2 separate regions of the Homo sapiens genome follow, and region 2 is linked to region 1. The links are contacts of gene promoters, found by promoter capture Hi-C in human tissues and cell types (Jung and others, 2019). All regions are on one chromosome and are shown on one strand. Each heading gives the region's core, a stretch centred on a gene start or on the middle of the fragment in contact. The rest is flanking DNA. Distances are from core to core; before and after follow the strand shown. Region 1 holds the start of DAG1 (dystroglycan 1). Region 2 overlaps RBM5 (RNA binding motif protein 5).

Region 1 (2,947 bases), core at 448-2,947:
CTAATTCCTGCTGGCCCTGAAAACCACAGCTCAGGAATTCCCTCTCTCCTCAGGCTACTATGTGAGCACGCTTAGCGGGCAGACACTATTAATCATGGGTTCCCTGGTCCCCACTGCCCCCTAAACTGAATTCCTTAAGGGCAGAAGCAGACTCTTTTACATGGGTCCCTAGGATCTACCACAGAATTTGGCAGGTAGTGAATCAAAATATTTGTTCAAATGAATAAATGCATTTTGCAAAATCAATTTTTAAGAACAGTGAGGATTTGCACTGTGCCTCTTTTAACAAAAGCACATGTCAGCACAAGCTTTTATATCCCATAGGGTCTTCACATGATGGATCCAACTCCCTACTGAAATCTGATTTCTCCAAAATACAGGACACAGGCCATGAGCTCTTCTTCCTTAGTTCACAGCAAAAAAAACCCACAAAAGTTCAACTAAACTTCTCCATACTCAAACTATGGATTTTTATGCCTCCAAAATGTAGTACGGTTGAATTCTTTTTTAGAACAGGAACATTCCAAAATAATGTCTCTGAACTTAACTAAGCATAGAACCTGATAAAACTGCAATACCCCATCTACACCAGACTTTGCAAAACACCTGAAAGCACATCCAGCTCTTTATCTGGAATTATGTCCTATAAACACCACCTTCCCTTCACGGAGTCTGGCTTCTATGCCAGGAGTCACTTCTACTCGCTTATTTAGGGAAGCAGCAGGCTAGAATCTTAAGTTAGACTCTGCGCTATGAAGGTGCTGTCCCAGGCTCTTGCCTCAACCAGTCAAAACTTCATCGTCACCATTAAAACTAATTCTGAAGCAACTCGATTTACAAAAATAAGAACTTTTCAAGTTATAGAGATTAAAGGATGCATTTTAAGTTACCAGTTGAGTTTGTAGGAAACTAACTTAGAATTTATGGCAAAAAGATTCCAAGCCGAGACGACATTTTCTGTGGAGACACTATCCAAATACACTCGCAGGTGAACCAGGTCTGCCAAATACAAAGTGAAAAGGTAGTAAGTAAACAAGCTTCCAAAGGAGCTCAAGTAAGGATGACGGAACCCACCAAGGCTCTGAGCAGCTCTGACAGAGCAGTGGCGGCAGCGGTGCCCTTCCCTGCCTCTAGCGGGGCTCGACTCCCCACAGTCGGAATCCGGCCCAACTGGGCCACAACCCCTATTGGAAGCCAGGGAGGCGGCCCGCAGGCGGCTCACGACCGCGGCCAAGGCGCAGGCTCCACGTTCCCGGGAGCGCGGGCCGAGCTAAGGCCTGGCCCATCGCCGCGGCGCGCGGCCCGGGCCTTGCAGCCGAACGCTCCGAGCCTTTGCCTGCGGGACCCAGAGCAAAGGGGCGGCTCCGCCCGGGCGGCACCGCCTCCTCACCCACAAGGACGTCCGCGGCCGTGTCCCCGCCCCGGGCCGAACAGCGAGCAGCAGCAGGTGTTCCGCGGAAGGCTCAGCCGGCAGCAGGGATGGGGGCCCAAGCAGCCAGGCACAGCGGATAGGGCGGGCGGTGCACTCACCCAGCGCCGGCGGGAGGACCGCGGCAGGTGTTCGCTCCTCCTGGCCCCAGGACGCCGCCACCGCCGCTCCCCGGGGATTCGGCGCGAAGCTGCCGCCGCCGCCACCGCCAAGCCTAAGAGGCGCGAGCGCCGCGCCGCAGCCTTCGCGCGAGCACGTACCGGGCGGTGAGAGGGCGCTGAGCGCAAGGGCGGGGCGCGCGGCCGGAGCCTAGCAACCGCCTGACACGCGAGTGTTGCAGCCAATCCAGCGGCCAGCTCCGCGCGGCGCCGACTGGCTGTCCGCGCGCCGCCGGCTTCTGCCTGCGTCGGCCGCTCCGCAGCGCGCCGCACCCGCGCGCAAGCCCCGCCCCGGCCAGCACCTCTCTGCTCATTGGCTAGCCACTCCCCCGCCCTAAAAGTCACGCCCCATTATGGAAGCCTCGCCCCCACGGCCAGGGAAGTCCGTCCCGGGACACACCCCGGCGGTCGGTCCCGGTCACTCGGAGCCTTCAGAACCAGTAGTGTGGGGGAGGGGCTCCCCGCCCAACTTCAGGCCTTTGGGCCTCTAAGACTAATCAAGGGACAGTCAGGACTGCGAACTGGCCCAGCAACTGGCCACCCGTCGACTGCGTTCAGCCCTCCTTATTTCCTTCGAATGCAAATCAAGGGGTATTTCTAAGCCATGAGAACAATCAGGAAGCGTTCTCTCAATTGCAAAGGATGAAAGCCTTGCTGCCCGGCCCTTACACGGATGGGAGACTGAGGCCAGGGACAGGAGGAGCGGGAAGCTAGCTCATCTCCTAGAGCCTCGCCCACAGCAGGCTGGGGAGTCGGAAAGCGCCTCAGGCCTAACCCTCGTCCCCTCCCCCTGCCTGGAACACTGGAATCCGACGCCTGCTCTCCTGCCCAAAATAGCTCTAACTCGCAGGCGCTGGTCACTCACTCCTAGTGGCCTGCATTCTTTTGGTGGGGGAAGAAATAAGAGAGGGGGGTTGCTGCCTGGAACATTCAAGGGGAGGGTCCTAAGGTAGCTCTAGCTCTCCCCAGGACTTAACCTGCAGCCCCCCACCCCAAAAGCCCCAGACTTCACAGTTACTGAAACTGACAGTTACCGGATGGGTCTGGGAATGAGACCCGTGGTGGGCTCTGCTTCTCATCCCCACACCATGCGCAGGATGGGTCCATTCCCTCCTTGGCCTGTGGCCAGGCTGGAATTCCAGGCCTGCACTCTTGACAGCAAGCACATTCTGAACACAGAACTGGCTGCCACCAGCCATGGTTTCCTCCCTGGATCCCGGAGAGCTCTGGGGCTCCCTGGCTTTCCCTCCCTCCTCAGGAGCGTCTGGGAGATGCAAGTTGCAGAGATAAGAAAGGAATGCCCCATCTCCCAAAAACATACCTTTTTGCAATTATCTATACTTCAGTGTCTCGGCTCCAA
Region 2 (2,947 bases), core at 253-2,752, 630 kb before region 1:
TAGTAACAATAACAGTGGGGCCACGGGTAGGTCCCAGTAACTAACAGAAAAGCAGAAAGTCTCACGTAGCTGAGACATGGGGACATAACCTAAAAAATTCAGAATGTAACACTGTTAAAATCTCCCAAGAAAAACAAAGTTTGTTGTATGTTGAAGAAGAATCCCATTATTATCAAGCCGAGGAAAGGGTTCAGTTAATTTGAAAACTCTACAGCAAGCCACTGGTGAAGCTCTTCCTTGTATCAACAGAGCACTATACATCCCATCCTACATACACAAACACAAGGTAAACTAACCACTGTCTAGTCCCCTACTGGACAGGGGACACAGTTTGAGCACTCTCAAAATATCAATGTCAACATTCAAGTTCAAAATGGTAAACCTTATATAACTTTAGCAGGGTTCTCAACTATTTTGGTTAATACAGTTAAGAGACTACGCCAAAAACTGAGAGCTCTAGAATTCAATAAACAGTAACATGAAACACACCTAAAATCTTAATCACTGGGCTTAGAACCTGCATCCTTTTTGTTGTCCTTTTTTGTTTTTTGAGACAGAGTCTCACTCTGTCACCCAGGCTAGAGTGCAGTGGCGCGATCTTGGCTCATTGCAACCTCTGCCTCCCGTGTTCAAGAGATTTTCCTGCCTCAACCTCCGAGTAGCTGGGATTACAGGCGCGCACCGTGATGCCCAGCTAATTTTTGTATTTTTAGTAGAGACGGGGTTTTGCCATGTTGGCCAGGCTGGTCTCTAACCCCTGGCCTCAAGCTATCTACCCGCCTTGGCCTCCCAAAGTGCTGGGATTACAGGCGTGAGCCACCATGCCCAGCAGAACGTGCATCTTAATAAACGAAACCTCTAGTTCTATCATCTAATACCAGTGTAGGAGGACCCAAGGAAAGTAACAAACCATGAATATTACTGATGATTGAGTAACAATTTCCTTGTTTGGACAGTCAAATAAACAAACAGAAAAAAACAGCAATATCCTAAAGGAGTTTTGTCTATTTGGGAAGAACATATGCTTACCTTGTTACAAAGCCAATCTTCAAACTTAGGTCTGGGATTGCTATAATGCATTGCAATGTGCTTTCCTTGAATCACCAACTTTTTCTGTAAGAAAAGAAGTAATTAGTTATTCCCATTGTGAGGAACATGTGTCCATTTTCCCAGGGCAGAGCACACTTCGGAAAAATCAGTGCTCTGGAATTAAATGGACAACATACGGGGAGGACCAACCACCGCCACCTATACTCTGCCCATCCAATCCTTCAGATAGGCAGTAAGAGAATGGGATGCGGAGTAAAGGTAAACGGAGTCAGGGAGTGCTGAGAAAGCTGTCAAACACTAAACGCTGACTTGCACCAGGCCGTGTCTCCAGCGGAGACAGAAGTCCTAACATTCAGCATTGACAGGCTGCCTGAGTGTGACAGTCTACTTCAAAAAGCAGAAGACACAATTCTCTCAGTTCTGAGACTGTCTCTTACTTTTGCCCTTAGCATGGTGTCCTTGGGCTTCGCTTCACCTTTTTCCCCAGTCCCCCATCCTTATGCAAAGTAAAAGCCTTTACATTTCTCCTTCCCCCCACACCTTCTGCTTCAGGATGAGTCCTTTGGGGGGAAAGGGAGGGGAACTCATTTTTAAAGGGAATCTGGTTACAATTCTTTCTCAAGAGGGACTATTCTGAATGCCACCAACTCTAAAACAACTAAATGAGATTTTTTTTTTCCTGTCAACTGCAACCATGTCATGTCCTAGGTGACAGATGTGTTTTTCACTAAAATGGATGGTACTCTCTTCAAGGTGAGTAACCAGGAGGCCAATGAAGTTTCTTCAGGGGGGTAGGAAAAGCTCATAAATGCACACACCACCTCATCCTTCAAGTCAACCATGTGACTACAAGGACTTAGCTTTAAAAAGTCAAAATTCTGAGCTGAATCAATCTAGCCAAGAGTATACCTAGCACCTACCCCTAAAGAGCCTTCATTTAACAGGAGCATCTTTTCTTTTTCTTGGGGGTGGGAGGATCAAGGGTGGGGGTGGTTTGACACTATCAAACAGATTTAAGTAGGTGGTTAGATATCCAGATTTTAAAAAGGAGTCTAACCCCTCTAAACATACATACTGTTGAGCAATTTGGTTCTTGCAAATCCTGGAAGATTTAAGACATGCTGTGAATTTTGTCTCTGCGATATCTAAAGGCAAGACTGCATGTCTGGCCAGGAGAGAAAAAGCTGAAGGGCCATCCACTCACTGTGATATACAGAAGCAAAAATAAAAAAGCTGGGAGATATGTGAATAGATCATCCCACTAGGAGGGATGTGTGCTGGGAGACTCCAAACTACCAGTGAGTCCCTAATCCTACTGGCCTTTTATTTCTGGAGTGAATTTGAACTGTAATGTGTTACACAGTAACATAGCTTTGTATACATTAAAATTGTGGAGACTTTTAAATGTCTTACAGGTTTTAGTTTCTTAGGAGTTTTAAACTCCTAGGTTAGTCATTCTGACATATCCACTGCATCAAACAATGCTATCATGTCAAGAAAGCAGACTCACATGAACCTTGTATATGTTCTGGATTTACTAGGATGGTATCTATGGTATGAAATGAATGAAGCTCTACTTTTAATAAAATCAGGCTGTGATTTCTGGGTTAGGAAAATGAGAGGCTTAAAAACTTTAACAAATCAGTCAGTCAAAGTGATACCCTCATTAGTGAGTCTTGTTATAAATGGCAATATTACCAATCAAAGAATGTAACTTTTATTCATGGATTCATGGATGACTCAAATCACAGAATGCTGCAGAAAAGCAAGATAATGAGTCAAGCAAACTTCCCAGAATGCACTTGGTTAAAGGCATTCAATAATGTGCCTTGGAGTTCTTGCAAAAAATGTTATTTAAGTGCCAAGCACTGAACATTATCTTGACAAACTGAAGAAC

The links. The method cuts DNA at HindIII sites, captures the fragments that hold promoters and counts their contacts. A contact is called where the count stands out against the background at its distance.
Region 2: a fragment that was not itself captured here is called in contact with the fragment with the promoter of DAG1 in region 1 in 2 of the 25 tissues and cell types used here (liver and stomach).

What each region holds. Positions count from the first base shown.
Region 1 is chr3:49,469,017-49,471,963 of GRCh38, reverse strand. DAG1 (dystroglycan 1) reads right to left here and starts at 1,697. Exons shown (of 3, transcript NM_004393.6): 1 at 1,531-1,697. RefSeq lists a silencer at 1,279-2,018. The HindIII fragment of the contact is 22,031 bases long and covers 674-2,947 here.
Region 2 is chr3:50,101,249-50,104,195 of GRCh38, reverse strand. It overlaps RBM5 (RNA binding motif protein 5), which reads right to left. Exons shown (of 25, transcript NM_005778.4): 7 at 1,030-1,113. Among named protein-coding and RNA genes, the nearest start is that of RBM5-AS1, 1.7 kb to the right of the region's middle. The HindIII fragment of the contact is 9,297 bases long and covers 1-2,947 here.